2 separate regions of the Homo sapiens genome follow, and region 2 is linked to region 1. Evidence: promoter capture Hi-C in human tissues and cell types (Jung and others, 2019). All regions are on one chromosome and are shown on one strand. The core of a region is centred on a gene start or on the middle of the fragment in contact, and the rest is flanking DNA. Distances in the headings are between cores, read along the strand shown.

What was found. The method cuts DNA at HindIII sites, captures the fragments that hold promoters and counts their contacts. A contact is called where the count stands out against the background at its distance.
Region 2: a contact is called between a fragment that was not itself captured here and the fragment with the promoter of ILDR2 in region 1, in 2 of the 25 tissues and cell types used here (neural progenitor cells and thymus).

The regions. Positions count from the first base shown.
Region 1 is chr1:166,972,514-166,978,589 of GRCh38, forward strand. ILDR2 (immunoglobulin like domain containing receptor 2) reads right to left here and starts at 3,027. Exons shown (of 10, transcript NM_199351.3): 1 at 2,710-3,027. The coding sequence starts at 2,755. It overlaps LOC124904449 (a long non-coding RNA gene), which reads left to right. Exons shown (of 3, transcript XR_007066714.1): 3 at 1-234. It also overlaps a transcript of MAEL not described here. RefSeq lists silencers at 2,877-2,926, 2,987-3,276, 3,397-3,446. The HindIII fragment of the contact is 11,019 bases long and covers 1-6,076 here.
Region 2 is chr1:167,006,373-167,012,448 of GRCh38, forward strand. All of the region lies in intron 8 of MAEL (maelstrom spermatogenic transposon silencer), which reads left to right. Among named protein-coding and RNA genes, the nearest start is that of MAEL, 20 kb to the left of the region's middle. The HindIII fragment of the contact is 6,636 bases long and covers 420-6,076 here.

The sequences.
Region 1 (6,076 bases), core at 1,777-4,276:
AATAACAAAACCAATATATTACAGGAAGCAACATCACAATGGCAATAAGGAATCACAAGGCTAAATATATAACAGGAAGACATACAGAATTTTAGTAATGAAAGACAAGGAAGAAGCTGCTAGAGCCTGGAGGAAAAAACTGAAGTGCTGATTAGAAATCGCTCAGCTTGCATTAAAAAAGAGAAACAGGAGGAGAAGGGAGAGGAGGAGAAATAGAGAGGGAGTGGGAGAGAGATGGTGGGGAGAGAAAGGGAGGGAGAGGAAGAATGAATGTGGTTTTTTTCCTGGCTCTCTGTCTCATTTTTAATCTGTTCTTCCCTGTCTCCCTTCCTTTCTACCACCCCCTCAAAAGAGAATTCATTGATTGGGCTGGACTAAAATTTCTCACCTTTCGTCTCATGGTTCTCTGTGAAGAATGAGTCTGAATTCATCTCCTCCTTGTCTGCTTCTGTCTCCTCCCTCCCCTCCCCAGCCGCCATTGTTTGCTCCTCTACTTTGCTGAGGCTGAGAGGCAGCTTGTCTGTCCACACCTCTGACAGCAGTGATGGGATGAGGAGAAAGCAGGAGCAGGGAGCAGAGGATGATCAATGGGATCCCAGGAGTCAGTCTCACTTTTGGAGCAAAGAATCCCCAGCCATCTGACAGCTGAGCTGGTCCTGATAACTAACCTGTTGCCTGATTCCAAGCAGAACAGCCTCTCCAGGTGCAGGTGGCAGAAGGCACAGACAAAGCCATCACCTCCCTCAAAACAAAAATAAAACAAAAAGCCCTCCAGCAAAAAGCCCAGAGAGGCAGCTTAGGAGAGGGCAAATGAGACTGGTCTGGAGTTTGAGAGAACTGGAATCTAGTCCCTAATCAATCATGAACGTGCTATGTGCATATTGCCTCTCTAGGACTCCATCTCTATAAACTGAGAGGGCTGAACTACAGTTCCTGTAGTACCCTCCAGTGATATGATTCCATTTCATAAAAAGCTGTGAGCCATCTAAAGAGAGCTCTATGTTTCCCTTCTTCTCTCACTCCCTGCAAACCCCCAGAGTACTTCTTTTAGGCAGACCCCAGCGTGTCTGTAAAGAGCACCTCTGACTCAGGGACCCCTCCCCCCCCCCCCCGATGCCTGGCTGACTTCAGTGCTGTTGTGATACAGGCTCAAGGACTAAGTGCCCTGAGAATATTGATAACCGAGAGTAGAGGCAGATTAAGGATGTGAAGAATCAGTGAGGGTGGGAGTGGAAGGCACTGGGAGGCCAGGGGAGCGGGGTGGCATGGATCAGCCAAACCCTGAAATTAGAGATGATTCATATCTGAATAATGTGGGAGGGATGAACTCAAAGCAGCCAAAAGAAGAGGCTAACTCTGCTGAGGATGCCTCCCCCAGCCTAAACCCAGCAGTGGGGCAACGGCAATGTTAGGGGCATTTCATTTGAAATGGGAAAAATATTTAGGCAATGAAGAATCTTATTCTGAAGCTAAGGGAAATGGGGTATTTGCCTTTTCTTGCTAAATGTATTTTACCCCCTTTACATGACTTGTTTTAGCTATTTTAAGCTTGTTCCCCTTTGCCTAGTGCCTTGATTTTGTCCAGATCTTCTGGCTGGTGATGCTAGAGGTGACAAAACTTCTCATGTGGTACTATTGTCCCTTTTCTCTCCTGCCTTCCACCCCCATCCTGTCCTCACCTTTCTGATCCCTTTTTCCATTTCTTCCATCATTCTGCCTCCACCTTGATTTGAATGGTTGCCTCTGACCCAGTCCAAGCTATCCAGACATTCCTCACCCCCATCCTACTCCCTTCAGCAGGGCTGCTTTGTGAATCTCTCAGGGCTGGCCACCCCAAGGCCCTGTATCCCTATGGGAATCGGAATCCTCATGTGGGGAAATAGGTTAAGAACAAGAGCATCTACTGACCCCAGCAGAATGGGGAGAAAGTTCACCAAAAAGGAGGGGAGGGCACAGAGGACCCAGCTAGACCAGTGACTTTGATGCTGGGGAGAAGCCCAATGCCTCTAAATCTCTCTGCAAATTATCTTTTAGGGAGCGGAGAGTGCACCTATTAGAAAGGCTCTTCTGCTTTCTAATTATCATTTGGGACCACTCCCCAAATGATACCAAGTAAGAGAGAGCCAGGCTCTAAACTCCACAACCAGTGAAGGTTCCATCCCCATCTTCTTCCCAACCTCCAGTTCCTTGCACCCTCCAGAGAGCCACAGAGAGAATGCCCTGGGTCCCCCTCCTTCTCTAGGGAAGAAATTAAGGAGACAGTCCTCTAGCCTCCACCTCCAGAAAACCAGTTCATTTAATTAATCAGCTCCCTCTGAGCTTCCTTTATTCCAGCCAGGCTTTTCACAAGACTCACAGCATTACAAACTCAGGATAAGACCGAAGGAGAACCGTTTTATGGAGGGGAAATGCATTCGAAAGAACAACCTCAGCGCCAATGAGTCAAACACCTGCATCTAGATGCGTCTCACTTGTCATTGGGCTTCTCCCCCGCCGCCCCCATCATTCTCTCTCTCTCTCTCTCACACACACACACACAAACACATACACAAACACACACGTTGCCCCCTCCCCCACTTTCCACCAGACCGCTAAGCAGCTTTAAACATGGTCAGTAAGGAGGAAAATGGGGGGGCGGGGGGCGCGGTGAGAACAGAACCACTACAGGAATATACAAAGTTATTCGTTTCTGTTGAAAAGGACTCTTACCTGTTAGCCAGAAGAGAGAAATCCACCTCAGCAAGACCCTATCCATCTTCCCCAACTTCCCAGCCGAATTACGGAGTGAGGAAAGTGGGAAATGGCTGGAACAGAAGGATCGCTGTCACCCCGCGGCAGCGGGCGGCGGCGGAGCGGCGGGCACCGGGCGTCCCTGGGCGCAGCGCCCGCCGGGCCGGCCGCGCAGGCGGGGCCGGGGGCTGGATCGCGCCGCCGGCTGAGCGCGCGCTGCCGCGGGCTTCCGGGGTCCGCGCAGCGCTCGGCGGCGCATCCGCATGCCCAGGCAGCGCGGCACGGGGCGAGCGTCTCCCCGCCGCAGAGCCCGCCGCGCGGGGGAGCTCGGCCGCCGCACCGCCTCCCGCGCCTCCGCCCCGCCGCCCGCTGCCGCGACTGCCAAAGTTTCTCGGTCACGTGCTGGCCCCCGGCGGCCCAAAGGTCAGCGTGGAGTGATTGAGGCCACGCGGAGAGAGGGGGTCTCTGGGTGGCAGGCAGCGAGAGGCGCGGGGGAGGCCGCCCCGCGGGCCGCGCCGAGCGGGGAGCGACCATCGCGGCTTCTCCCAGGGACGCCCGCGCTCGGGAACCCGGGCGAGAACGCTGGCTGGGGACTCGAGCAGGGGAGCCTGTGTCTGCGGGCAGCCACAGCCAACCTGAACGGGGAGAGAGTGACAGCGGCGAGGGTGGGGGACGGCGGGGACTTGGCGTAACTTCTTACAGGACTTAACTAGCAAGTCCTCTAGGCTAGAATGTTCGCTTCTGCGGTACCCCCGCCCCTCCGTCTGGTTTCCTTTTTGACAGTGCAAGGAACCAGGCAAGAGGCTCCGCAGAATTGAAAAAGGTAGGCGGGAATCTCGCGTCATTACTTTTTCCTGTTAAAATATGAGGTAGAATAAGGGCATCCGGCCCTTTAACAGAAAATATGTAAAACCAGAATGAGATAAATGATTATAACGGCTTAAATCCATCCAACACTTTATAGATTCCAGCACGCATTCACATGGATTATTCCTATTTGTCAGACGGATTTGTCTTGTGTCTCAAAATGTATGTGTTGAGAGAGAACTGAGAAATGTATGATTTGCTTAAGAAATATATTTATGAAGCCTCTACTAGGTGCTAAGAACTAAGGTTACAAAGTGGAATGAGATAGACTTCCTGCCCTTAGGAGCCTCATCTTGGGTCGAGGAAAGGGAGGAAGGTCAGACCATTAAAGACATGATACTTATTCCTAGTAAAACGGGGCAAGTGCAATAATGGAGACATAGAGAAAGTGCCTTGGGAACATAGAGGAAGGACTAAGTTAGTCGTGGGTGGGGAGGGGGCACCACGATAAAGGAGGGGTAACATCTGAGCTGGCATTTGCAGAAAGCACAAGATTTGAGCCATTCAAGGATCCCTGGTGGAAAGGGGGCAGGCGAGGGCATTCTGGGCAGAGGAAAGAGACATAGCAGAAAGGTCTCAAGTAGCATCTGAAAACAGAGTGGTGCCAGGCTGGAGGGGAGTTCCTGGAGCAGACAGACTCCACACCTAAGAGTGAATGTGTACACAGACAGGGAGAATATGTATGTGAACATGTGAGAAATGGGAAGAATAGACCCTGGGCAGCTGTCTTTTATGGCTGCCTGACATCTCAATTCCCTTCTTATTCTGAGAAATTCCAACTGCAGAAGCCAGAAAGTCTAGAGCCACCTCCCTGACCATCCCAGCTGGAATGCAGGCCCGGGCCCCTGGCATAGCCAGGCTGACCTCTCCCTCAGAGCTTTTTGATTCTGGAGCAAGTGGTGGATATAAGAAACAAGGACAGTGGAGAATTGATTTTGTCACTGAGGCAGCAGCAGCATCCAGTGTACATGATCAGCTGTGGCAGAGGTCAAGCCACCAGGATGCTCCAAGGTGTGATTTTTGGCTGTGGTCTTGCAGGCTCTCTGGGTTCTAGCCTCTCTTCTACACTTGGCTCTTCACTTCCCCAGCAATTCTTTGAGCCACCCAATATCCTTTCATAAACTCTTTCTTTGCTTATTTTGGCCAGGATGATTTTTTCATGCTATGTACTGCATGAGAGAAATTTGAGGACTATTTCCTTTCATATACAGAAAAATAAAAATATAGGAGGTACCTAACACTTGTGGGTTTCCTTTAGGTTCTAGGCAGAGTTCTACATGTTTAACAAACCTTCTCATTTAACCCTAAAGAGGGAACTTAGGCCCAGAGCATTTAACTAACTTCTCTAAGATCAGGCAACTAGTAAGTGGCAGAGCTAGGATTTGAATCTGACTCTAAAGCATATACTGTTTGCACCACAAAAAGAACATCTACACCAGAAGATTGAGATGATATATTTGTATTATGCTGTGCCATTTACTGCATCTATGTGTGTGTGTCACAGTGCACAAAAGAGCTTGAATAGTGTTTATTATCTAAGCACACATAACAGTGGCATTTTGGCCAGGTGCAGTGGCTCACACCTGTAATCTCAGCACTTCGGGAAGCTGAGGTGGGCGGATTGCTTGAGCTCAGGAATTTGACCAGCCTGAGTAACATGGTGAAACCCCATCTCTACAAAAAATACAAAAATTGCCAGGCGTGGTTGTACATACCTGTAGTCCCAGCTACTCTGGAGGCTAAGATGGGAGGACCACTTGAACCTGGGAGGTTGAGGCTGCAGTGAGCTGTGACCACGCTACTGGACTCCAGCCTGGGTGACAGAGTGAGACCCTGTCTCAAAAAAAATGGCATTTTATGCAAAACTTGGACATATGAGCAAGTTTATACATGTGAAAAATGGGAGATGGACTGAGTGAAGGAAGCCTGGATGTGTATATGAAGTGGAACGTGAATGCCCACAGAAATGAACTCATGTCTGCTCAGAGGAGGTGTCTGTGTAGTTGAATCAGGAGACTTGGAGAAGAGCTTGTGCCACAATGAATCATAGAATGCAGTTGCCTTGTCCATCATCCCAGAAATGTGTTTTCCATGTAGTGCCCTGCATGTCTACTTTATAGCCAGAGAGGTACACATGGTGTATCCTGAATCTTCCTGAGTGAGTGGCGCCCAGGCCATCCTGAAGGGGATGCTAAACTGGAGTGAATCACAATGTGTGCCCCTCCATCACCTTGCACATGTTGTTACCAAGGTGATGAAGGGTTAATATAAATTTTGAAATATATGTAATGATTCAAAACATGTAGCCTAAGGGATGGAGGTGGAAAGAGGATGGGAAAATGGTGTTATTTTGCCATATTGGTGGTGGGTGATGGGATATGGCACCCAGAGTCCCAATGTGGTTTCTGAACTTCCAGTATCAGGATCATATTACTGTGTTTGCTTAAACACAGATTCACAGGCTCTACTAAGAATAATG
Region 2 (6,076 bases), core at 2,488-4,987, 35 kb after region 1:
ATAGAATGTTTCTCACTTTTAGTTGATCTGTATTTCCTCATGGTTAAATTGAGATTATGCATTTTTGGCAGGAATACCACAGAAGGGATTATGTGACTGACTGCTCAGTGTGTCATATCTGGAGGTATATGATGTCAGTTTGTCCAATTACTGATGATGATAACTTTGATCACTTGTTTAATATAGTACCTATCAATATTTCTCTATTGGAAAGTTACTGGTTTTTTACTATATATATATATATATATATATATATATATATATACATTTTTTTTTTTTTTGAGACAGAGTCTTGCTGTATCACCTAGGCTGGAGTGCAGTAGTGTAATCTCAGCTCACTGCACCCTCCACCTCCCAGGTTCAAGTGATTCTCGTGCCTCAGCCTCTCGAGTAGTTGGGATTACAGGCACCCGCCACCATGCCCAGCTAATTTTTGTATTTTTAGTAGAGATGTGGTTTCACCATGTTGGCCAGGCTGATCTTGAACTCCTCACCTCACGTGATCCACCCGCCTCAGCCTCCCAAAGTGCTGGGATTACATGCGTGAGCCACTGCTCCCAGCTTTTTACCATATAATTAATAAATATTTTGTGGGGAAATACTTTCAAATTGGGTAGGTATTCTCTTCCTCAAACTTTCATATACAAATTTTAGTATCAAGTGCTGATTTTTGCCTGAGTCAATTATTACTATCATTGTGAAAGGTGATTTTTCTAATTTGATTGTTCCTTCTGCATTTATTGGTTGGCATTCCACTGTAAAAAAAAAAAAAGTTTCTCCTTTTTACCCATTTATTTATTTTTTTCATTTATATGAGCATGGACTCATGGATTCCTATTCAGTACATTTTAATCTATTATTGTAATTTATTTTTATGATCAAATTGTTCCATATATGGCCAGTGGGAGTACCTTCAAGCAGGGGTTTGTGTGTCCTTTTGACATTGCTTCATTGCTTTCTATCTAACAGTGCTTCTTTGCTTTCTATTTGGCACAATATGTTCCAGGCCTATCTTGTACTTTCTTTGTTCCAGCCCTGGATTAGCCATTTCTCCCAAGAATCTCTGGTTTCTTTTAGTGGAGCATAACAGTTAGGAGATAGAATCTGGGTGGTAGGTGTGCTCATTTCTTACTAGAGTATCATTGATTCTAGATCCCCTTAGTAGAGAGCTAGGAAATATATGTTTGTGTGTGTGTGTGTGTGTGTGTGTGTGTGTGTGTGTGTGTATGTACACACACACTCCATATACATCTGTTTGTAGCTAGGTCTCTCAATCTTTTTATCCATCTCTATCTTATCATGAGTTCACACTTAACCTGTAATTTCAATCCAATACCATAGAGTTCTCTAGTTTTTTTACTTTTTAAAAAATTTCCTTTCTCTGAGAATGAGAACCCTGGCTGTCAGTATTTTTTAGAATTATATGGTACCACTATTTTTAAAAAAAGACATACAACTGTTTAGAGTTTGTTTATAATCGCTTTTAGTCTGAAAGTATATAGTCAAAATACTTTGTTCAGAAGTTATTTAGGTTCTTTTTTCCCCTTTCAGTACAAATTACTCTTTTGAAATATATTAATAGTTAAGTTCGTTTGCTTGTTTGTATTCCATTTTTGCTAATTTAGCTTTTGAATGTCTAAAGCATTTCCGTTTTGTAAACAAAAATAATATTCAGAAGTGTCACTTTATTCTAGCTTCATTAAAAAAAGCTTGTTAGGATTGCATTAAATTTATAAATTAACTTGGGGATAACTGAAATATTTATATTGTTGAGTTGTTTCCAAAGACTAGGGACATCTTTCCATTGTTCAAATCTACTTTTGTGTCTTTCAAATATGTTTTAAAATTTTTCTCACACAGATTGTGCATCTCTGGGACTGGCGCATTTTTGTAGGAGCAGTTCCTTGATAACTTTTTCTGTTCTTCTATGGAAATTGGTTTTATTAGGCTTTCTAATTTTAATGGGGTAAATTTTGGTAATCTGTATGTTTCTAGAAAATGATACATGTTATATAGCTTTTCAAAGTTATTTGTTTAAAGATCTGCAAGGAAGTGTGGTCTCTTAAAATTTTTTTAAATTTCATCTGTTTCAATGGTTATCTTGTCATTGTATATTTGTGCTCTCTCATTTTTTTGTAAGCAAATGTGTTGTCTTTTTTAATTTTTCAAAACAATAGGATTTTAATTTATTAGACCTGTTTTTCTATTCTCTTCCTAATTAATTTTTGCTGTTACTCTCTTTGTATGTTGTTGTTCTTTTTCTAGTTTTGGGGGCTGGAAATGTAATTTATCTTTTGCCTGATTTTTTTGATGTGTTTAGTAGAGTGAATTTTCTCTTAATCATTGTTTTCAATGAATTTACGTAGATTATTGCATGCAATATTTTCATTGCCATTTTAAATAAATTATGTCATTTTAACTCTCAGCCACCATCTCTTTAAAACAAGGCTTTTAAATGTCCAGGTGAAAAGGACTTTCTGCATTTTGTTTCTTTTAGTAAATTCCAGTGTTTTTACATTGTGATCAGAAAGTGTTTATAATATTTTTACTTTATGGAAGTTACTGGTCTTTGGGGTTTTTTTGCTGACTTAATATATAATCAATTTTTGTGACTGTTCTCTTGGCATATGAGAATATACTTTCTTTTCAGGATATAGCATTTGAGATCCACACACATACATCATCTACATTAATTGTATTGTTTACATTTTCTTTAGGTATATTTTATCCAGTTGATATGTCTTGTGTTGACAGTAATCTCCTATTATTACTGTGTTTCTGTCTGTGTTTCATTGCATTTCCTGTAGTTGTAAGCTGGCTGCTGTGATATTTGATGCCTTAAAAGTTAAAGTTTGCTGAACCTTGATACAGTAAATTGATCAGGGGCTCATGGAAGAGTATTCCCTGTGTTCTTGCATGTTTAAAACTTTTTCTAATGGTGTACACCATATTTCCTTGAGTTTCTAGAAAATGCAACTTCATTTCATGGCTTTGTGTGTTCCTTTTGTGAAATTTGGTCAGTTAATTTTCTTGGCCTTAGTTATCTGATCTTTTTGACTGGAGTTAGTTGATCATTTTGCCTGGAGACTTTAGTCTTTTTTCATTTTTAAAGTCTAATACTGTTACTAGGCTATTTCTCTGAGTTTATATGCAGGTCCATTTTCTAAGACATTTGGTGAGCCCTTTCAATATGCAGAATCAGGTTCTATTTCTGGAGATTTTTTTTTTTTTTAGATCATAGTTTAATGTTAGTTTTGTTCCACTGTCTAATGTTTCTTCTTAAAAGGAGTCCAATATATATGTATGTTTGATCTTCTTTGCCTTTCATTTTAATCACTTTTTCTGACCCTTTTTACTTTGTTTATTCTCATGATAGTTTCTGCTTTCTTCAGTTTCTCTTATTAACTTTACAAATGAATCTGTTCAGCCTTGGGCAGTTGGTAATTTAGTTCTTTTCTGTAATGTTTTTGTCTTTTTTTTCCCCTCTCTTTCTTGAGTTAAGTAATTTCTTCATTTTTTGTTTATTTCTGTTTCTAGTTTTGAAGTTTCTCATTCAGGGTGTGTTTTTATATTCTCACATTCTTTTTGAGGATATTTAATTTAACATGGAATGGTAATTGATATACTTTGGCTCTATGTCCCCACCCAAATCTCACCTCGAATTGTAATCCCTATGACCCCCATGTGTCAAGGGTTGGACCAGGTGGAGGTAACTGGATCATGGCGGTTCCCCCATGCTGTTCTCATGAGATCTGATGGATTTAATAAGCATCTGGCATTTCCCCTGTTTGCACTCATTCCATTCTGCTGCCTTGTGAAGAAGGTGGCTGCTTCTCCTTTGCCTTTCCCATGATTATAAATTTCCTGAGGCCTCCCCACCAATGCAAATCTGTGAGTCAGTTAAACCTCTTTCCTTTATAAATTACCCAGTCTCAAATATTACTTCACAGCAGTGTGAGAACAGACTAATACAGTAATGTTAGGTTTTTCCCCTCCTTCATGTTTTTTTGGGGGGTGGGGGTATGAGAAATTATCAGCTAAAGTGTTTTGATTCTCCTTTTCTGTTTTCTTTTCTTTTCTTTTCTTTTTTTTAAAGAGAGTCTTGCTCTGTCACCCCAGCCGGAATACAGTGACACAATCATAGCTCACTGCAGCCTGGAACTCCTAGAGTCAAGCAGTCCTCATGCCTCAGTCTCCTGAGTAGCTGGTACTACAGGCATGTGCCACCATGCGTACCTAGTTATTTTTCATTTGTCGTGGAGACAGAGTCTTGCTGTGTTGCCCAGGCTGGTGTCGAACTTCTGGCCTCAAGTGATCTTCCTGCCTCAGCCTTCCAAATTGCTGGGATTACAGGTGCAAGCCATTATGCCTGGCTATTTTGTTCTTATAATAGCTTGTTTTCTTCCCATAATAGCTTTCTGTAGATGAAGATACATTGCTCCTTTGCGTTTCTTGGACAAGGCTGATAATTTAGCGGGAGGTTTGATTGAGAGTCTTTTTTCCAAGAACCTTCCTCTCTGTCAATGTGACAAAGTACAGGTTCTTTAATGAATGTTTTCAGGGTGGTGGGAGTGTGGTTGTAGGTTCTTAGAATTTTATTTCCTGCATGATCTTAAATTTCCCCCTTTGCTTTTTTTTTTCTACCTAATTTCTAAAGGGCCCTTCCCCCTTCCTCTTTCACTTAGCATGGCACTTGCCTATAGTCAGTGCTCTGATCTACTAGGACTGTTTGAATATTTACGTAAAGAATGGGCTTCCTCATTGTAAGAATGATTTTAATTTAATCTTAGGCTCTCCATTTTCTTTCTTCCTTCCCCAAGTTTTTTCTGGACTCTACTGCATATAAAGGTTGGGGTAGGAGATTGAGAAATTGCTCCATTGGAAATTACAGTTTTCATTTTTCTATTTATAGACAACTGAGTTTTGTAGTGTTCTTCTAGTTATGCTGTAGGTGTAGATTTTGTTTTCCCCACGTTTGTTGTTGTTGTTCTTGTTAATCTGTAAAGCTTATGGATGATGTGTTAAGATATTTGGATTTATGTACCATTACCTCAGTTACAGGCTGAAGTATTTCTAAAATTTCACATTGAGTCATTCATTGTCCATGTTTTTATACATTATTGTCCTCTGTGCCATTAAGAGTGTTGGCGATACAGCATTTCTTAAAAAAGAACTCCACTGTTGTCTCTGGGGTTTTCTTCTAAGCATATCCTTTCTGCAAGTTTTGATGCCAGTTCTTTCTTGATCTTTTCAGAAGAGGTCAAAAGAAAGTTTTCAGGGACAAACTAATATGTCCTCAAATAATCTTTAAATGGTTTATTGACTAAAATGTTGAAGGATTGCAAATGTCTGGTTACCATCAAGATTAATAATTAAATTTGTACATGGTTAGGCAATGGCAACTATTTCTAGACTGTCAAATAGACATTGTGCAATACCTTCAATTGTAAGATGCATTCTAATTTTGGTTAAAATGTCAAGAAAATGTGTTTTATAATTGAAGAAATACAGTGTTGAGTTCAGCAGAGTAGCTATACTCTACAACAAGACTAGAGTAGCTCTAGTTTGAGACATTATTTGAGGTCCATGCCGTGGGATTTTGTTAAAGGTAAAACTCTTACATAGTACTGTAGGCACTTTACTAAACTTCTTTGGACAGGATGGATCTACTTTTTATTGAGCTTCATAACATAATAAGATTCAAATGTATGATATTTTACAAGGGAGTTTGGATTGTAGTATACAATAGAAACTGTTAGAATCTGTTAATATAAGCAAATGAAACTTATTCCAACCACTGCTCTTAAATGCTTACTAAAAGACCTTAAAGTTTGTAATAAATTTGTGATAAATGTTTTGTCTAGTTCTAAGAGAAATGGGTAGATTTTGTATTGGTGAAATTGAGTACAGTTAGGCAAATTGAATATTAGAATCTTAAGTAAACAGTCTGTTGATAACATGCATTTTGGAGGCTAGAATATTTATAATTTTTATAGGTCCCCTAGTCTCCTGATGCTTCTTGTCATAATTCTTCTTGGACTAATTCACTGTCTATGATCAGCTGACTAAACATGGC